Regions from separate parts of the Homo sapiens genome. Here region 2 is linked to region 1. Evidence: promoter capture Hi-C in human tissues and cell types (Jung and others, 2019). All regions are on one chromosome and are shown on one strand. Each heading gives the region's core, a stretch centred on a gene start or on the middle of the fragment in contact. The rest is flanking DNA. Distances are from core to core; before and after follow the strand shown.

Region 1 (5,892 bases), core at 2,224-4,723:
TGTGGCTCTAATGAATTCCCAGGAGCTCCTAGGAACTGAATATTGGGTGATACCAGAGGAAATGGCTTAGATGTTATTAACTTCTTGAGTTTCTGGAAAATGCTATCAAACCCAATAAGAGTTGCCTTTTATGAGAGAAAAGTTTACAGAAAGTGTAACCTTAGGAAAGCTTGTGGAGAGTTCTTGGGTTTTGGATCATGTACAGATTATAAGATGTTCCACTCAGGGATAGGGTATCATCAACACTGCTTTCATGTACTGACTATTCTATCGAAACATCTTCACATGAGGTTATCACTGACCACTTAACTGCCAAGTCCAGCAGACCCCAAATGGTCCAACTGTCTGCTGGACGATATCTCAAACTCACCATGTCCTCTAAACCTGCTTCTCCTGCTCTGTGCCCCTTAAAATTGGTTAAGAGGATCACCAGTTCATCCATCAAGAAGGAAACATTGACTTTTCTCCCTTTTACCAACGTCTTACTTTCTACTGTCTAGTAATTGTATTAGATAGAACTCTTTTTGCTGTAAATTCCAAAATTCAACTTGAACTAGCTTAGACAAAAATGAGAAATTGTATTACAAGGATATTAGGATGTCTCATATAATCAAAGAGCAAGCTGAACAACCAAGCCATAAGAAAGGTGAGGACACAGGCAAGCCTTAGGGACAATTAGAACCATGAGACATATGCCAGCACTTTCCCTTCATATTGATGTGTGTCTGATGTGTGCTCACTAACTACAAAATAATTCATTTAGCATAAAATATGCTAATTTCCTCTAGAGGTAGAGTGACTTACTTTTCCCAATTCTAGTTTGAAAAATTTCAGGGAAGGACTGTGATTAACCCAGCTCATGTTAGGTGTTCACTCTGAACCACCCCAAATGTACTCAACATTAGGAGAATGCTTAAGTACATTACGAAAAATCTATGCAGTGAAATATTCTGCAACCATCAAAGTTATGTTTATGATGCAGTTTTAAAATTTGATATGGTGCATTTTTAAAATTTGATATGGGGAAATACATGTTAAAATCAGGACATTAATTAACTTTACAATTAATCTCAACTTTGTAAGAAAAAAGATTAGAATGAAACATATCAAATGTATTTCCAAAATACCTAATAGTTACTACTTCTGGCTTATGCTTATTTTACCCTCTTAATTTTCTGTGCATACGTTTTTTCCCCTACAATTAGCTTATATAACTTTGAAAACAAGGGAAAAAATTTTAAAACTCTGCCTGTCACTTTCCTAGCTATTGTTAATAGCCTCCGCATGGTCTTCTAGATGCCAAACCACCCTTCACACAACTGCAAAAAATTATCTCACTGAAATTCATGTCTAATCATGGCACACTCCTATTTTTAAACCCTATTTGGTTTCTCATAACCAACACAGTAAAGTCTAGACTACAGCATCCTTCACAGTAGCCCCATCTACCTGCCCAGTTTGCTCTTCCACTGTAGCTCCACCAGGCACTTTATATGATCGCAACCCAAACTATTCAGTTTCCCAAATACATCCTGCACACGCCTTTACCCTTCTGCACTGTTGCTCATTCCATCCAGAAAGCAGCATAAAATTGTCTCCTTCTCCTTCCATTCTTACCTTAAGAACAATCTTCATCTACCCAGGAAAGTCACTTTCTTTGCCCAAGTATGAAGGCCTCAAGAGGAATGAGGGAAGAAAGGGGAACTCACCTGCTCAGTCAGATCAACTGAATCAACCCTGAATCAATGCTGCTGATCAGGGCCCAGCCGGATCACCTTCACTTTCCTGGTTACCAAGCTCCCTCCTTCAAACACCTCTCCCCGTTATTCAAACAAGTGTACTTTTGAAGTACTCGTACTGAGTATTGTGCCCAGTACATAGCAAGCACTTGGCAAAAATGTTAGCTGTCGTTATTGCTATCAATATCAACAGGCCTTCCTAACTAGCATGCAAAAGTATTCTGAAGTTCTAGAACCCAAATCATTACAATTCATTACAATCTGTCCCATATCAGTTTGTGAGCTTAAAGTCTGGCTTAGCACCAGGCTATAGCTGTTGATTCAATGACAGATGTATAAGCCTCCTTTGAAAAATCATCCTTTCTTCGGTGAGCTCTACTCCCATTAATTCCCTTCCTATGTGCAGCTTAGTGTTCTTTACGTCTCCAAAATATACCTAGGTGTTGGGAGGATTTTGTTCCCAATGACTTTATTTGAAATAAACACCCTTTTATCAACCATCAGCCTTGTTTCCAGGAATGTGTTCCTTGTGTTTCTTTGTTCGAAGTTGCTGACCAGCAGCTTATCACACAATAATAACAAGCATTAAGCAGTTATAATGTGTCAGACACCCACGTAAGTTATGTTTTACCTACATTTATCTCATTTAAGATTCACAATCTTTCCCGCTTTACAGGATCAGAAATTCAGTGATTTACCCGATGTGGCAATGTGACAACTTAGCCAGCGTGGCCAAGTCAGAACTTGAACCTAGGTCCATCTCACGCCAAAGCCCATGTACTTGAACATCGCACCATAGAAATCAAGCCGAATAGTAGAGGACTGGAGGGAGGGTATCTCCTTCAAATATTCAGGGCATCTTAGGCTAGAAAGCCTGAGTCTACTCAGCATTCAATACAGACCAAATACTATCAGTGCCATGGTTTCACCATCTCCTTCAGGCATAATTGGTCACTTGCCCTCATGCAATTTTTGTACCTCTATACAATAGTTTAGATCACTCACTTCCTTAGGTGCTTATAATTAGCTGAGTGTGTGTCTTTCTTAAGGGCAGCGATCTTTTCTTACTCATCTCTTTATTCCTTATTCTGTGTAGCATAGGGCCTTGCATATTCAATGATTGTTATTTATTTCAATGCTCGTTATTTATTTGGACACTCCTGCAGATCTATAAAGAGACCACAAAGTTCCAAAAGAAAATAATCTACATTCACAAAGTAAATGAAGTATGTAGGAGATGCACTTGCTTCATTAATTTATTAATAAATACACAATGTGCTATTGAATAAAACTTGAAACAACTAAACATCTAGAAAGTTGGAAAATATTAAAATTACGTGCCTTATTTTAAATTTTAAAGTCCGAATATTCCTTGCTTCTAGTAAATTAGCAGAAAACAGCTCAAGAGATTGTTACACCCTCTATTCCTAAATCATGGCGATTGGGAAGAAAAAAGTGAAAGATGAGAGAGAGAGAGAGCAGAGACCCTTGGCATATAGTTGACACCCAGTAAAAAAATTTTAAAATAAAAGAAAATTGCTTTTAGATCCCAGGTTTGTAACCCCTTATCATCTCGTTCTAGGAGGTAACAAGGAGTTACTAACTTGGGATCTAAAAGCAATCCTAAGGCTTGAGGCCGAGAATGAGATGTAAAAGGACTCCTGAAAACTACATTTCCCATGATGCCCGTCTCCCCACGCAACCGCGGCCGCGACGTCGCTCCCATGGCAACCCAGAAGGCCTCACTCCCAGACTCCTTGCGGAGCTCGCCGCCTGATTCTAGGCTGGTCACTACTCCGAGCCTGTGACGTTTGCGGCAGCCAGGCCGTCGACGATGCCCAGGTATTCCCTGAACCCGGCTTGCGTGGGAAAGGCTACTGAGAGTATTCCTGGAGAGAGGAAGCCCAGGCGGGACCAGCTGTTGGAAGATTGTGGGGGTGGCTACTTGCCACCAGGATATGCAGGGTCGGGGACCTAGGAATCAGCCTTGAGCATAAAGATTCTGCCGCAAACAGGAAAGAAAAGAAAGTTCCCTAGGTAGAAAAGTGAGAGATTTGGAAAGATCAGCAACTCCACCCATTCAATGATTGAATAAAAGTTTCTTGCAGGCCAGAGACTACTTCCGGAGCAGGACATTCGGCGATGAGCTAGACCACAAAGCCTCCTCTCCCCAGGGGCCTCCCCTCCTGGTGCGGGGGTTCGCAGTAATAAGCGAGGGGAAACTTGGAAGGCACTGTGGAAAGTATAACATCACTTTTAAGGGGGGAAACGGGAGAGGGTTTGTAAACTATATTCTAGCTGTTCAATTCTATGATATTCATTTTAATTACCTGTTCACAAGATATTCCTAAACCTTTTCTCAACAATTTATGCTTAAGCACGTCGGGGAGAGGGGTCAGGGAGTGCATCACAGAGCAGGATAAATCTTTTTCTCTCCTTGGGATAGTGTGGAGAATTGTCAGCTTTCCATCAAGGGATAATTGGTTAGTTATAAAGCTATGGTTATACTTCCCGATTTCCGCAGGTGTCGTGGCTGACTGCAGCACCTCCGTCTTTCCTCTCTGCTAGGTATTTGGAAAGCAGATCCTCATATTTTGAAAGAATGTTGTGTAAATGAAGAGCAAACAGCCCGAAACTGAGTTCTGAAGGCTCACCTGTGAAATAAATGCATGAATTTTAGTGCAAACATTTAAGGACTCCTGTTTTGACCCTTTTTCTTATTCCTGGTTCTTGAATAGTATAATTACAAGCCCTCAATAATTTTTGTAATTGTATAGGCCATGCCCTAAACTACATATATATTTTAACAATTATGACAATCCTATAAAGCTGATACTCTTTTTTATTGGCTTTTTAGAGATAGAGAAACAATTGAGCCTGGGGAATAGCACAGAGGATTGCATATATTAGGTGCTCAATAAATATTTGTTTAATTAATAAAGGAATGAAGGATTTAAAGAGGTTAGGTAGTTTTCCCAAGTTCACATACATAGGAAGTAGCAGAATCAGGCTAGGACCTATCAGGTCTTGCCCATGGTTAGTTTTTAGTTTAATATTCCATTTTCACTTAGGCTTTAATTAATATATATATGATTTTATCGTGTAAAGTTATATATCTGTGTAAAGAAATCAATGAAAGGATTGTTTTCAAAATGTTTGTGGTTTTAGGGTTTTTTTTTCTTTCTTTCTTTATGGTTTTTTTTTGGCGGGGGGAGACAAGGTCTTGCTGTGTCACCCAGGCTGGAGTGCAGTGATGTCAACATGCTTACTGCAGCCTCGACCTCCAGGGCTCAGGCAATCCTCCTGCCTCAGCCTCCCTAGTAGCTGGGACCACGAGTGCATGTCACCACACCCAGCTAATTTCTTTTCTTTTTCTTTTTTTATTTTCTTTTTTTTTTTTTTAGACAGAGTCTCGCTCTGTTGCCCAGGCTGGAGTGCAGTGGCACGATCTTGGCTCAATACAACATCCACCTCCTGAGTTCAGGTGATTCTCATGCCTCAGCCTCCTGAGTAGCTGGAGTTACAGACACCCGCCACCACACCTGGCCAATTTTTTTTTTTTTTTTTTTTTTTTTTTTTTAGTAGAGATGGGGTTTTACCATGTTGGCCAGGCTGGTCTTGAACTCCTGACCTCAAGTGATCCACCCACCTTGGCCTCCTAAAGTGCTGGGATTACAGGTGTGAACCACCACTCCCAGCCTCAGCCAATTTTTTTTGTTTGTTTTCTTTTCTTCTTCTTCTTTTTTTATACTTTAAGTTCTAGGATACATGTGCACAACGTGCAGGTTTGTTACATATGTATACATGTGCCATGTTGGTTTGCTGCACCCATTAATTCATCATTTACATTAGGTATTTCTCCTAATGCTATCCCTCCCCCATGCTAATTTATTAGTAGTAGTAGTAGTAGTAGCAGTAGTAGAGATGGGATCTTCCTGTATTGCCTAGGCTGATCTCAAGTGATCCTCCTGCCTCAGCCTCCCATATACTTTTATATTAAACAAAATTTTTTTTTACCTAAAAACATAATCTAAAACACAAAAAAGAAATGTTTCAGGGAGGAAAGATTATTTGATACACTGGTTTTGTACTTTTCCCATCTTCCTAGGTGACTTAAATGTTTGTGGTTTTCAAGTTGTACATTCCCAAAGTC
Region 2 (5,844 bases), core at 3,156-5,655, 190 kb before region 1:
TGCCCCCATGCCTAGATAATTTTTTGTATTTTTAGTAGAGACAGGGTTTCACCATGTTGACCAGGCTGGTCTTGAACTCCTGACCTCAAGTGATCCACCTGCCTGAGATCTGCAAGCCTGGGATTACAGGCTTGAGCCACCATGCCCGGCCTACACATGTAATTTAAAAGATAAGGAAAGCCAAGTGTTGGAGATGGTTGGGGGAATGGGGCTTCTCTGTGATAAAAATATTCTAAAGTTGTTTGAATTAACTTTTAAGATGTTAAAACTTCATTTCAGAAATGTTGATAAGGATCACTTTAGATTACCTATGTTAAAGTGCTTCATAAATTCTAAAGCACTACACATGTAGAAACTTTTATAGTTTTAAAAAATGATGCTAAAAACAAATTTCAGGAAAAAAATTTTTAAAGAAAAAATATAGCAAAGAGAATATTAAAAATTAATTTTAGAAATGCTGGTGGTTGTACAACTCTGTGAATAAACTAATAAACTGAATTGTACACTTCAAATTTATGAATTGCATAATATAGCTCAAATATGTAAAAAATTATTTTAGTTTTCCTCCTTTATTCATATGTTCAGTATTATCAAGCTGTATATATGTTTCGACATTTCATATACATGATCACTTTCAGCCATTATGGCAAAAACACCACAAAAATACAAAATACAGCCCCATGAAGTCAGAAGACCTTCTAAGATTGCTGTTTCAGGTTCTTATTAGCAATATGGTCTCAGGTAAGCATTTACTTTTCTAAGCCTCCCTTTGCCCATTCAACAAATTAGATTTCTTATCCTATATAGTAGCCATTTGAGGATCACATTAGATTACCTATGTTGAAGTTCTTTATAAATTCTAAAACACTATACATATAAAAATTTTTATAGTTTTTAAAAACGATAACATTGAAAATGTTAAAAATTAATTTTAGAAATGTTCTTTACAGGCTAACCTGCAGCAATAATTTTATTTATTTATTTTTTTAAGACAGGATCTCACTCTGTCGCCCAGGCTTGAGTGCAGTGGCACAATCATATCTCACTGCATCCTCGGCCTCCTGGGCTCAAGCAATGTTCTCACCTCAGCCTCCCACGTAGCTGAGACTACAGGCGCATGCCACCACACCCAGCTAAGTTTTAAAAGTTTTGTACAGACACAGTCTCACTATGTCACCAAGGCTGGTTTTGAACTCCTGGCCTCAAGTGATCCTCTTGCCTCAGCCTACTGGGAGGGTAGCTGGGATTAGAGGCACAAGCCACTCCAGCTTTTGGACTGCATCTTCTAAATGTCTTACAAGTGAAACAAAATATGAGACGATAGCATCAAAACTCACTGTGAACTCAAGGTGAACAAAACATGTGCAGTATCCAAGAGCAGGGCCTCCCCACTCCGACCCATGCTTCCGTTCTGCCAGTCCAACATGGCAAGTGTCCCCTGACAGAGGAATAAGACAGCTGACTGAGAGATGTCACCACAACAGAGGCTCCTGCAGCTGCTCATAAACCACTCGGGGACACTGGTGCAGTCCACTGAACGAAGCAGCACACTGCTAATCTGGAAAAATATAGCAGAGCTAACACACATAAAGCTTTTAAAACTTTTCAGAGATATTTCAAAATACAAACCCAAACATCTCTTTCCCCTGAAAAATCCTAGGAAAAATGACTAAATCCAAAGATAAAATACCCACAAATGTCATGATTATTGTATTAGTATTAAAGGAAAAAAATTACATCAAGTACGAGAATGATTTTGCTGGTTGGAATGTACTGGCAGAGCACAACACATCGCCACCTGCAGGTGGATAAGCTTAACAACTGCTTTTTTTTTTTGGTATGTATTTTTTTTTTAAACAAATGCTTTTAGAGGTGATTTGAGAAATAAACATCTTCGACTTATCCAAAGATAATTACTTTGTGTGATCTCATAATATATTTTTCTAAGGTCAGGTAAAAAGATAAAATAAGTTTCCATACAATATAGCAAGCAAAAAAAGAAATCTACTAGTAAAAAATACAAGGATTGTGGCCTAAATTATCAAATTATACTTTCTGTAAGAAGCAAATTTACTGAACAATTGACTCTATCTAGCATGCTTCCTGTCTAAAGCACATGATTTGGGTTATTCTCAATAAAGAATACATTTATCAGAAAAGTTATTACTGTGTATATATCTATACATTGATATGCATAATTTTAACATTAAAAATATCTTTTAAGATACTAATGAGAGATGACACTGAACAAACAGCACTAAAAAGAAACTAAAAGAATGTACATCAAAAATGTTTATAGTGATTATCTTTGTGAGATGGACTTACAGGTGACTGTTATTGTCTTTTTGTTATTGTTGCTTTATCTGAATTTTTGGAATTGTCTCTTATTATAACAGAAAAAGGTCATCAGAAGGAACCAGACAATGCAAAAAAAAATTATTTTAATTCACTTCTTTAAAAATATTTTTAATTTTTTTTTTTTTTAAGAGACAAGGTCTCACTCTGTTGCCCAGACTGGTGCAATCTTATCTCACTGCAGCCTTAAACTCCTAGGCTCAAGCGATCCTCCTACCTCAACCTCTCAAAGAGCTGGGACTACAGCTGTGCACCACCATACCCAGCAAATTTTCTTTTTTTTTTTTTGTAGAGACAAGGTCTAGCTAAACTCCCCAGGCTAATCTCAAACTCCTGGCCTCAAGTGACCCTCCTGCCCTGGCCTCCCAAAGTGTTGGGATTATAAGTGTGAGCCACTGCACCAAGCCAAAATTATTTTTTAAACATACCCTAACTCTCAATAAAGTACAATTCTAAAAAGGAGATGCACTTACCAAATGAGGAATCTTTTCAGACGGGTGAAACATAGTCTTAATAAAAAGAATAATAGCTAATCCAGATGTGCTCTGTACAGTCTGTAACAGATCATCTATTTGGCAAAAAAGGAGAGAAGCTTGTGTTAAATAATGAATATTCTGGTAGAGTGGAAAGAGCAGATGCTGAGCAGCCAGATAGGCCTGGGTACAATTTCTAGTCTGACCACTTCCTGGGTGAATAGGTCTTACCTAAGTTATTTAACATCCCACAGACTCTCTTTTCTCTTGGGTAAAATGGGATAACTCTTAACTGAGGCAGTGTCAGGTTTAGATGAATAATGAACATAAACGCTTTTTAGAAGGAGTCTCACTCTGTTGACAGGCTGGAGTGTAGTAGCGTGACCTCAGCTCACTGCAACCTCTACTTCCTGGGTTCAGGCGATTCTCCTGCCTCAGCCTCCCAAGTAGCTGGGACTACAGGCGCGTGCCACCACACCCAGCTAATTTTTGTATCTTTAGTAGAGATGGGGTTTCACCACGTTGGCCATGATGGTCTCGATCTCTTGACCTTGTGATCCGCCTGCCTCGGCCTCCCAAAGTGTTGGGATTACAGGCATGAGCCACTGTGCCCGGCTGAATATAAAGGCTTTTAAGCCCAGCATATAGATACTCAATAAACGTGATTCCTTCCTCTCTCCTCTAACATACACTTTCTTCCTCGCCAACTATTGCTTCCCAAAACACCTAACAGCAACACCACCTGTCCCCTCCCCTCCACCAATGCCTCTGTATCCCAATCACCATATACACAGACTTTTTCAAAAAGAGATTTCAGGGCTTGTATAAAGAATGTAGGTAAGTGCTAATTACAAACTTTGCTAGCACTGACACTGTACCCATAGCAACCAAACAGTTTTGACTTGGTATCTTCTTTTTGTTTTATCTCTATTAGCCTCTAATACCATGGTGAGTTGTTCAACCTGGGGAAAGAAGTAACACTTCTTTATGACATCATAAACTACGTACTAAATATCCACTCTGCCCTTCATCACTGATAAGAAAACTGTGACTTTGATTGGGGAAGCCACATGCCCAGCCAAAAGCAGGATACTTGCTTCTTCAATCTTCTTTGCAACTAAAGGTAGGCATATAAGAGGGTTCAGGCCAGTTGGATTTAAGCCAGTCACTTGAGTATCCTGATCAAAAGTAAAGACGCAACTGGCCTTCCTTCTTCCTGCCTTGAATAAAGACACATCTGGAGCTACAGCAGTCATATGGCAACCACGAGGCAACAAACGTGGGTGAAAACCAACCTGCTGAAGATGGCACAGCAGAAAAGCAGAAAATGTGTGGGTCGTACACTGCCTATACCAGTTCTGGATGACCTGCCTCTGAACTTGTTATGTGGGAAAGGAGGTTTGGTTTTCAGTTACTTGCAGCTAAACACTTTACTGATTATGAAGCTTTAAAATGCTGGAAAAGAATAGTACTGATTAGGTGCCATCAACTTTTCGGAAAAAAAGCTACTTCTTTTTTTTTTTTTTTTTTTGAGACGGAGGCTTGCTCTGTTGCCAGGCTGGAGTGCAGTGGCATGATCTTGGCTCACTGCAACCTCTGTCTCCCGGGTTCAACTGATTCCCCTGCCTCAGCCTCCCGAGTAGCTGGAACTACAGGTGCACGCCACCACGCCCAGCTAATGTTTTTTTTTGTATTTTAGTTTTTTAGTATTTTAGACAGGATTTCATCATGTTGGCCAGAATGGTCTCAATCTCCTGACCTCGTGATCTGCCCGCCTTGGCCTCCCAAAGTGCTGGGATTACAGGCATGAGCCACCACACCCGGCCGAAGTTACCTCATATTAAAATCATGTATTCTCTACATTTCATTAGTTAGAGAATCTTTTTTTTAGACTAACACAGTCCTCTTTTAAAAAGTAAATAACCTCTGAAAAGTTTTCTGTAAGTTATGTCTTAATAAAAGTAACTTTAACTACTTTCCTTTCCTTTTAATACCTGAGAACCCAGGCAAAAAGAGAAATAGAAATACTAATTGGACAAAATATAGCTAAGACTTTCATTACCAGGGTTAAAAACACAAACAATGAGGCCAGGCGCGGTGGCTCACACCTGAGCCACTTTGGGAGGCCAAGGCGGGCAGATCACCTGAGGTCAGGAGTTCCAGACCAGCCTGGCCAACATGGTGAAAGCCCGTCTATATTAAAAATACAAAAAAAAAATTAGCCAGGCGTGGTGGTGCATGCCTGTAATCCCAGCTACTCGGGAGGCTGAGGCAAGAAAATCGCTTGAATCTGGGAGGCAGAGGTTGCAGTGAGCCAAGATCACGCCACTGCACTCCAGTGTGGGCGACAAAGAGAGACTCCATCTCAGACAAAAAAAAAAACCAAAAAACACAAACAATGAGATGCTATTGTCTTCCAATCAGCCTAGCAAAACCAGAGTCAGTTATTGTTTTTCACTAACAAGAGCTCTAAAGAGATCCCATTAGCATGTTTTTAATTAAGTTACATTCAAACATATATTACCATATAGAATGGGAGGTGAAGAGAGAAAGGATAATTCAACTTTTTATATAAATACTTGTGTTAGGTGTCACTTTTTCGTTAATCTTATTATAATAATAAACCACAGATTCCAAAAAAGTGACAGAAAACAAATTTACAGCTTAATAAATTATTAAAAAGTGATCACCCTTGAACCTATCTTCCAAGGCAAGAAATAGAACTCAGTCACCCAGGCTGGGCACAGTGGCTCACACCTGTAATCCCAGCACCTTGGGAGGCCACGGTAAGCAGGTTACTTGAGGCCAGGAGTTCCAGAACAGCCTGGCCAACATGGCAAAACCCTTTCTCTATTAAAAATACAAAAAATTAGTCAGGTGTGGTGGTACCCTCCTATAATCCCAGCTACTCAGAAGCGGAGGCACGAGAATCGCTTGAACCTGGGATGTGAAACCCAACATGCAGAGGTTGCAGTGAATAAACATCACGCCACTACACTCCAGCCTGGGCAGCACA

Evidence for each region. The method cuts DNA at HindIII sites, captures the fragments that hold promoters and counts their contacts. A contact is called where the count stands out against the background at its distance.
Region 2: a fragment that was not itself captured here is called in contact with the fragment with the promoter of DYNC2LI1 in region 1 in 1 of the 25 tissues and cell types used here (H1 embryonic stem cells).

Annotation. Positions count from the first base shown.
Region 1 is chr2:43,770,566-43,776,457 of GRCh38, forward strand. DYNC2LI1 (dynein cytoplasmic 2 light intermediate chain 1) reads left to right here and starts at 3,474. Exons shown (of 13, transcript NM_016008.4): 1 at 3,474-3,581. The coding sequence starts at 3,574. It overlaps LOC105374571 (a long non-coding RNA gene), which reads left to right and starts at 3,588. Exons shown (of 2, transcript XR_940033.2): 1 at 3,588-3,981; 2 at 4,308-4,427. It also overlaps the pseudogene RN7SKP66. RefSeq lists an enhancer at 3,360-3,409. The HindIII fragment of the contact is 10,095 bases long and covers 1-5,892 here.
Region 2 is chr2:43,575,685-43,581,528 of GRCh38, forward strand. THADA (THADA armadillo repeat containing) reads right to left here. Exons shown (of 38, transcript NM_022065.5): 9 at 2,829-2,923; 10 at 1,338-1,558. Among named protein-coding and RNA genes, the nearest start is that of THADA, 17 kb to the right of the region's middle. The HindIII fragment of the contact is 5,407 bases long and covers 1,703-5,844 here.